Linked DNA regions of Homo sapiens: regions 1 and 2 are each linked to region 3. Evidence: promoter capture Hi-C in human tissues and cell types (Jung and others, 2019). All regions are on one chromosome and are shown on one strand. The core of a region is centred on a gene start or on the middle of the fragment in contact, and the rest is flanking DNA. Distances in the headings are between cores, read along the strand shown.

Evidence for each region. Contacts are between HindIII fragments. The study calls those that stand out against the background at their distance.
Region 1: a contact is called between a fragment that was not itself captured here and the fragment with the promoter of NAT10 in region 3, in 1 of the 25 tissues and cell types used here (aorta).
Region 2: a contact is called between the fragment with the promoter of HIPK3 here and the fragment with the promoter of NAT10 in region 3, in 1 of the 25 tissues and cell types used here (aorta).

What each region holds. Positions count from the first base shown.
Region 1 is chr11:34,630,503-34,633,202 of GRCh38, forward strand. The region is part of intron 1 of EHF (ETS homologous factor); the gene reads left to right. Among named protein-coding and RNA genes, the nearest start is that of EHF, 11 kb to the left of the region's middle. The HindIII fragment of the contact is 3,664 bases long and covers 1-2,700 here.
Region 2 is chr11:33,255,955-33,258,654 of GRCh38, forward strand. It overlaps HIPK3 (homeodomain interacting protein kinase 3), which reads left to right and starts at 1,427. Exons shown (of 17, transcript NM_005734.5): 1 at 1,427-1,935. RefSeq lists silencers at 1,182-1,511, 1,772-2,111, 2,182-2,381. The HindIII fragment of the contact is 7,361 bases long and covers 1-2,700 here.
Region 3 is chr11:34,104,229-34,106,928 of GRCh38, forward strand. NAT10 (N-acetyltransferase 10) reads left to right here and starts at 1,401. Exons shown (of 29, transcript NM_024662.3): 1 at 1,401-1,564. RefSeq lists an enhancer at 1,154-1,613. The HindIII fragment of the contact is 6,988 bases long and covers 1-2,700 here.

The DNA of each region.
Region 1 (2,700 bases), core at 180-2,679, 530 kb after region 3:
TTCTGAGATGGGGGCTGTTGCTCTTTCCTTGACTTGAACATCTTGGTCTTTTCCTAGGAGGAAACTTGACTCTTGAAATGGTCAAATCCATTGTCCTAGTTCATCCTGACCCCTCCCTGGCTCCAATCCCCACCCCTTACCGTCCTCCACCCTTCCTACATTCCTGCACAGTTGGTCTTATTTATCAGTCAACTAAGGGTGTTGTTAAATCTTTTATTTTTCTGCTGCCCGATTTGGTTCTAAGCACTCCACTCCCTACGCTGCTCATAACAAGAATGCCTGGGAACGCTCAGTCAGCCATATCCCTCCCCTGTCGGAACACCCAGTTCTTAATGCTCCTGGAGAGGCAACATTTCTGAGGCCCCACTGCCATAAGCCCCCCTCCCCCATGAAGCCAGTGGTCTGGTAGTAATGAACCCCCAACGGCCCGGAGAACACTGGGGCAAGGTGTTTGTCTGGGGAAATGTTGCATGTTGCCTTGACTGTGCTTTCTTCTACAAAGCTTAAAAAGAGATATTATATTATTTTATTTTTATTTTTATTTTTGAGATGGAGTCTTACTTGGTTGCCCAGGCTGGGTGTGCAGTGGCACAGTCATGGCTCACTGCAACCTCCACCTCCTGGGTTCAAGTGATTCTCCTGCCTCAGCCTCCCAAGTAGCTGGGACTACAGGCACATGCCACCATGCCTGGCTAATTTGTATATTTTTAGTAGAGACGGGGTTTCACCATATTAACTACATTGGTCTTGAACTCCTGACCTCAAGTGATATGCCCGCCTCGGACTCCCAAAGTGCTGGGATTAAAAGCATGAGCCACTGCGCCCGGCCAAAAAGAGATATTCAAAAGCTCCCTCTGACTGTGTGTGCTGAAGGCTGAGTGCTGATGCCATTGCTTAATTAATGTTGTTCATGATCTCCATTTGGGCGATTTGTTTAGCTCCTTGTGGCCCTTTTTGGACTTAGCTTATCATGTGACATTGACAAATTAATGAGAAGTGAGCATGTGATGATGCTTGGATTAGGACAGAAATCACATCTAGGACATCTCAGGCCCTTTCCACCTGGGACCTGAGGCCTCAAATCTCTTGGCAGGAGATGAGTGGGTCTACACAGCCCGATTTTGAGGTAGGTGTGGCTAGCCTCATTTATGCGATGGGAAAACTGTGGTCCGGGAACCAGGGGTTTTCAAATTATGCTTTTTGCCCAGGGCTGGATGTAGGATGTCTGGGGGAGAGGCTTGACTGAGATCTGGGTACACTGAGCCTCCACTTTAGGAGGTAACCTAGAGACTACACCTACTCCCTAAACTGTATTGACTTTTGGAAGTCAACCATTTAGAAGAGTGTGGTTTTGGTTTCGATCGTATCCCAGCAGTCTTTTCTCTGCCCTTGTTAATCTGATTCATGATCTGAACCTGGGCTGGCTGGAGGCTGGCCATGTCACTTTGCAGACCATGGACACCCCTGAGTGCCCTCACAGAACCAGCCAATGGAAAAGTACAACGTCTTCTGGCTTCTCAGCCTTGCCATCTCCCTCTGGCCTATTTGATACCCCCTTTTATATTGAGGGAGTGAAAATGTAGCATCCAAACTGAAAACGCAGGTTTTTCTTTGGTTTTTATAGGAAAAACAAATTGGCATGAACACTCAGTCAAACCAGCTCAGGCTGTTTGGGCAGATGCCTTTCTTTGCTTTTTTCTGTTTATTTTCCTACAAATCAATGCTTAACTGCGTTGTTATCGGAGCAGAGCAACAGGTGCAAAAAAATAACTCTGCTGCCAACTCAAATGAAAAGGTAGGGCTTATACCCTCTGGGAGGTATTCAGAAGATAACAGAAGCCCCTGCCAGCAACTGAATTAACAGCTCTGTTTACGGTGGGTTTTATGTTAACAACCTGCTCCTGACCCTCCTACACATAAACACACCATTGTCTCAGAGAGAGACATTCAGCCATCCAGACAACCCACTGCTTTATTCTGCCCTGAGTGGAGATTGGTTTTGGCTCAGGCTGCTTTGTGAAACTCAGAAGCATTATCCTCTCTGCCAACTCCACGTCCTAGTCAGAGTTTTCTGTGAAGGCAAGGGCATGGGGTTGCCGGAGAGAAGAGGATTGGTCCTGCTTTTAAGCCTAGCTGAAATTCTTTTCAAGGTTGGTCATTCTCAAATGCCAGAGAGGGTTGCCCGGCTCTCTCTGCTCTTGCCCCATTCCATTCACAACAGGAGGTGGGGAATGAGCTCAGATGACTTTGGAAGGAGCCACTATTATTTTGGAAGCCGTGTCCTTGTGAATAGTCCATCAGGGTAGGGCAGCGTCTATGTTTTGTTAACTATTGTATCGCCAGCACCTAGCAAAGTGCCCAGCATCTAGTAGACACTTGGTAAATATGTATGAATTACAGAGGGTCTGAGACAATATTGTAATGGCCGGATAAGCATTTCTTGGTAATAGTTTCTTTCTGCTGAAAGCTGAGAGACTAATTGTCTTCTGTATGAGGGCTTAAGTCCAGGGTAATTAAGTAATCTTTTGAAGGACTGAGATGGAGGTGGGATGGGGTTAGGGTGGCTTGGCCAGCCTTGAGATGCTCCTGATGCAAGTAACCATCAGAGAGATCCTCTGCAAGCGCTATATTCTGGGGCCAGATTTGTCTGTTCGGACTTCAGAACTCATACTTTTGAGTATCCAATTATTGTTGAATTTG
Region 2 (2,700 bases), core at 177-2,676, 850 kb before region 3:
ATTCAAGCGATTCTCTTACCTCAGCTCTCGAGTAGCTGGGATTACAGGCGCCCGCCACCACGCCCAGCTAATTTTTGCATTTTTAGTAGAGACCAGGTTTCACTATGTTGGCCAGGCTGGTCTTGAACTCCTGACCACAGGTGATCCACCCGCCTCAGCCTCCCAAAGTGCTGGGATTACATGTGCGAGCCACCGCGCCCGGCCTCCTTTGTCTCTTAAAGGCATTATCCAAAATACTCATCTTCCGGTTTGAAGAGCAGCAGGGATTAAATGTGTATTATGTATGCAGCAATTTGCCACTCCCTTTGCCCTGCCCCAGTTACTGCAATAGAAAATTTCTGGGAATAAATACATCTCTGGTAAATTCAATCTTGCTAGTGAAGATTATGAAGGAAACAAAGAAAGGACACTTCCATTCCAGAAAGGTGTTTGTTTCCCAAAAGGTTAGACATTGATTCAGAACAAAGGGAACCTGAGGAAACGGGTATAAAAGAAAATCAACTCTGAATGTGAGGTATTAGAAAGCCATTTGTTTCCTAGGGAAAAGGAGGAAAGATGGGGTGGGAGACATGGGCTTTACTGTATAACCTTGGTCATGTCACCTAAACTTCTTGGAACTCCTGAGTGTAAGAGTTGGGACCAAGGATCGCAAAGCTTCTTTCATTCCTAAAATTCTATGGTTCCACGATTATGTAAGCTGAAACAGGCCATTCTGTTGATTTCCTAATCTCCAGGAGGAAAGAAACTAGTCTTTGGGAGTTAAACCGACTAATTTAACGGAGAATTACCAATGTGGAGGTGGGCGAACTTCACAATTATGGGGTTTTGGACAGTAGAGATGCTCTTAAAATTTCCAAGAGGACCCTTCCCCCGTCCTTGAACCTGGCTTTACAATTCTCTTCACTCTTTGGGATAGGGGAGCGGGTAGAACCTAGTTTAGATTGAGGTCGTTCATTTGAGCATTTCCCCTTTACTTATTTTGGGACCTTTAACGACCAAATGCCGAGAAACAGATCCTTAATTACGGTTCCGGGATCTCGAAAGGCCTGTAAAATCCTGCTTCCGCATCTTCATCCTTTCTTCGGGTATTGGGATCTTTTTTAAAAATGTGTATTTCTGGCGGAGGGGGCATGGAGTGAGGTTCAGAACAGCAGAGCCGGGCTGACGGATGCTTCTTTCGCGGGAGGCTTGGCTTGCGGGACTCCGGGTTGGGGCCGCACGGGCTGGCAGGCGGGCTCCGGGCAACAAGGGCGCGGCTGCGGACTGGCGGGCGGACCCCGGGGAGGGGCTTCACGGAGGCGCCGCGGCCGGAGCGGAGCGGAGCCGCCCGGGCTGGGCGCGCAGCGCTGCCGGGCGGGCGGTGGCGCTGCGGAGGCGGTGGCCGAGGCCGACGAGCGCGGAGGAGGGGCCCGAGGCTGGGGCGGCTGGTGGCAGCTGCCTCAGTGACGACTGCCGGCATCGCGGCGACCTGAGGAGATCAAGCCGCAGGCCCCGCCGTCGCCACCACTCCCGCCAGTCTTCCTTCTCCGCTCCCGGCCGGGGCGTCAGGAATGGGCCCCAATCGCCGTGGGCCCCGCACCCTGCGTCGCCCGTAGGCCCCAGTAGCCGGAGGCCGACCGGCCTCCCACTACCCCTCGCCCTAGCCAAGCCGTCCCCACCCCAAATCCCCGGGAAGGAAGATGAGGGAGACGGGCCCGGCGCTTAGCAGCCAGAGCAGCAGCAGCAGCAGCAGCGGTCGGGGGAGGGTGTTTCGCCGTTTCCTCTCAGCCGCCAGGACAAGATGGCAGCGGCCGCGGAGAGGGGCTGAGCCCGGGCTGGGTGGTGCCGCCTGCTGAAGCGCCTGGCTCCCGGTCCCCGGCACGGCCCTGCGCCCCACCCCGGACATGCTCAGGGCTGCGGCCGCCCGAAGAGGAGAGAGCGCGGGCCTCTAGGAAGGTAAGGGAGTCGAGCGAGGGGCGCCGCCACCCCGGGGTGGGGGGATCGGCTCCGTCTGCGGGCTCCGCGGCCAGCGGACCCCAAGCCTGACCCGGGCCTGGCCCGACACCTCCGGCGCAGCCCGCACTCATTGCGCGTCCCGTGCCCCATCCGCATCCCCAGCGCTCTCGTGCTCCCAGTTTCCGCCCTAGCCCCTGCAGTGTGGCCCGGTATGAGCCGCTCCCTCGAAGCCGGCGCCACGCCAGGCCCTGGGCCGCCGGACGCGGGGGCCGTAGCCTCCGGGAAGCCGCGCCTGGCCGGGGCCCGGGGGCCTCGGCCCCCCCTCCCCCTGCCAAGGTTGCGCAACGGCTCTTCCCAGCAACCGAAGTTTTGTTTAGTCCCACGGGGAGCCTCTCTTCCCCCTCCGCAGTCCTAGGCCGTAACTACGGAGATCCCTTTCCTTTCATTAAGGGGAACAAACAAACGCGCAGGCACGCAGCTTGAGCACCCCAGCCGATGGCCGCGTCCCGGGCTTTGTGGCCCCGTCCCCAGCGTCGCGGAGCAGCGGGTTTGCAGGGTGTCAACTCTGGGGACGTGCGTGCGTGTGTGTGATTGTTGGGGAGGAGAAATGTGATCCGCGGCTCCGCGTCCCCAGCGGCGGCGGGAGGAAGGCGTGGCGGCCGCGCGGCGGGGCTGTTGCCGGCTTCTCTCGTTACGGTGGCTGCCGCCCGCTTCCCTTCGCCGCACTGGGAGAACTGGCGGAAAGACTTTGGATGAAAATGTCTG
Region 3 (2,700 bases), core at 151-2,650:
CAAATGTTTTGGGTGCCATCTTCAATGTACTTTTATAACCTGCATCTAATCCTTAAGTGAGTCCACGTGGTTCTAACTTGAATATCCAGAGTTATCTTATACTTCTAACTACTACCACAACTACCATCCTAGCACAGGTGACTACAATAGCTTATAATTGTTCTCCTTTTTCTACTTTTGCCTTCCTGTGATTTAGTTTTTGCATAACAGGAAGCCTTTTAAGAGGGCAAAGCAGATTTTCTCATTTCCCTGTCCCCCACAAACTCCAGTGGTTTCTCATCATGACTAGAATTAAATTCTAAATCTGGTCCTTCACTTGCCCACTGCTTTGGCCACACTGACTGCTTTGCCAGGACTCCCCCATCTTGGAGCTTTTGTATGTACATCTTTGGCACGGGGAAGTTTTTCACTCATATTCTCAGGGCTCATTCTTTCTAAATTTCAGGTCCTTGTTCCATCCAGTGTCACCCCGTCAGAGGCCTTCAGTGTTCGTTTCTAAAATAGTATCCTTAGTCACTTTACTCACTGGATACTTCTGCTTAATAGCATTTAAAACTTAACCTAGAATTAACCACGAGGGGCAGGAACATTTTGGACACTATCCCTTGTGAGCAGAATAGTGCGTGGGCATATTCACATTTTGCTGAATGAACTAAAAAATTTCATGATGGATGTTGGATTAAATGGGTAGTGCTGCTGATGACATTAAAAGTGTATCTGGGGAAGGGGTTTGGATTCAGACATTTGCGGTATCCAGGAGGAAACATCAAGCAGTTGATAATGTTTTTTGAAGTTCAGCGATCTGCCCCAAAGTCAAGAATGCAACACTATGTATAGGTTGTCCCTGTAGTCATGTTCTTGGAGTTCACTGGAAGCCCAGGGGGAGTAATTTCATTTGACGACCATATACAGGCCTAATGGGAGCCTGCAAAGTACAGCGGCCGCAGTCATGGGTAGATTACAGGATTCCCATCTGTAAGATCAGTACTGTGGGGGTGGAGGGCCAAGCGAAACCAATAAAATAGGTCTGTTGGCCGAGTTTCCTCAACTTAACGGGGATCGGTTAAATTGAACACAAATCGTTGGATCCGTCGCGTTTCGCGTAACCAGGCTGACGCTGAAAACCCTGGACCTACGTGGGCAGGCCCTGGGGTGCGGACATCTATTTTGCCCTTCTTAGCCGAGGTACTTTAGCTGGGATATGAAGAGTGAAGAGGCAAACCGCAGCCAACACCCAGCTACCGCGAGCAGTGGGACTAAAATGCGCAACCGCAGTGGACATCTAGGCCTCAGCTCCGCTTCTGGTGGCTTACGTCATTACTCAGCGACAGCCTTGAGGAAGGTCCCTTCTCGCTCGCCATCTCTGCGACTTTAATGCGCTTGCGCACGTGCTGTCTACCAGTTCCTGAGAGGGACGCGTGCCGCGGAGCCAGGCTTACTACGTGACCCGGACACCAGGCATACGCTAGGGGCAGTCAGCTGTGCCTTCTCTTTCGGAGTTGTTCCGTGCTCCCACGTGCTTCCCCTTCTCCACTGGCTGGGATCCCCCGGGCTCGGGGCGCAGGTACCCAACGCGGGAGGGCCGGGTATGGATGCCAAGATCGGTGTCTGTGTTCTTCCTGGGTCGAGAGGGGACCGGCCTCAGGATGAAGGCTCTGCATCCGGACGGATACCTGGCCTACGCCGTTTGTCCTCCACCCCTCTTTTGGGGCGCTCCAAGATAACAGAATCACCTCTCCAATACGCAGCCGCTCTCGGCGCGTGCTTCTCGAGCGTCCTCGGGGATTTGCGTGGCTCGATAACCACCTCTAAGTAGTGCCTGTAACTGGGGAGTCGGGGTGAATGGGTGGGTGACAACAGTTGTTTTCCGTGGAGCTTGCCCGCAGTGCCTGGCTGCAGGTCTGGGCATTATACTTAGGGTAATCTGATTCCAGATCCTTCCACGTTCTTAAATCCTTCACTGTGCACATTCCTTTATACTCTTTATTCAGCAGTCACATTCAGGACTTGGTTTTGTTTGCCAGTGCACCTAAAATGGTGCCTGCCACATAGATGTTATGTGTAGATAGACGAATGAGTGAGCGAAAAATAATCATCTCCTTCAAGGCCTTCCCCATCCAGGCCTTCCATGACAGCTTCAGCCCATAGTAATCTCAGCCCTTCCTTCATCTGACCGGTCCCTCAGTATAGCTATTTTTTTTTTTTTTACATCTAATTTTACCTGTGTTCTTGTTCCTCATCTCATTCTCTTAAATACCTTCTTCAAGAAGAATGCAAGCTTGAAGTCAAGGGCCTTGTGGTACTACTTCTGGGGCTCCCACAGTAGCTAGAGCAAAAGGCAGCCCCCATTAATTAGTTGTTGATTGATTTTTGCGGGATCTTTATGTGGCCGGCAACACAAGGTTTACAAGTTGGGAAGATTGGCGAACTGGGAAGAGCTCAGGCTTTGGAGTCAGGAAGACTTGAGTGTGAATTCTGTCTGTCGTTTTTCTGCCTCGGGATATTTGAATTCTTTATACTTTCTCCTTTACGTATAAATTGGGGTCCTTGACAGTGACTTAGTGTTTTATAGTAAGACATATGCTAAAATCTGTTTGGATTGGAAGGTTAGAAGGGACAGTTAAGGTATGGTAAGTTTCAGTAAATGAGCTTTATGTTTATAATGCAGTAGGTACCAGAGTTTCTAAGTAGCATGTCACT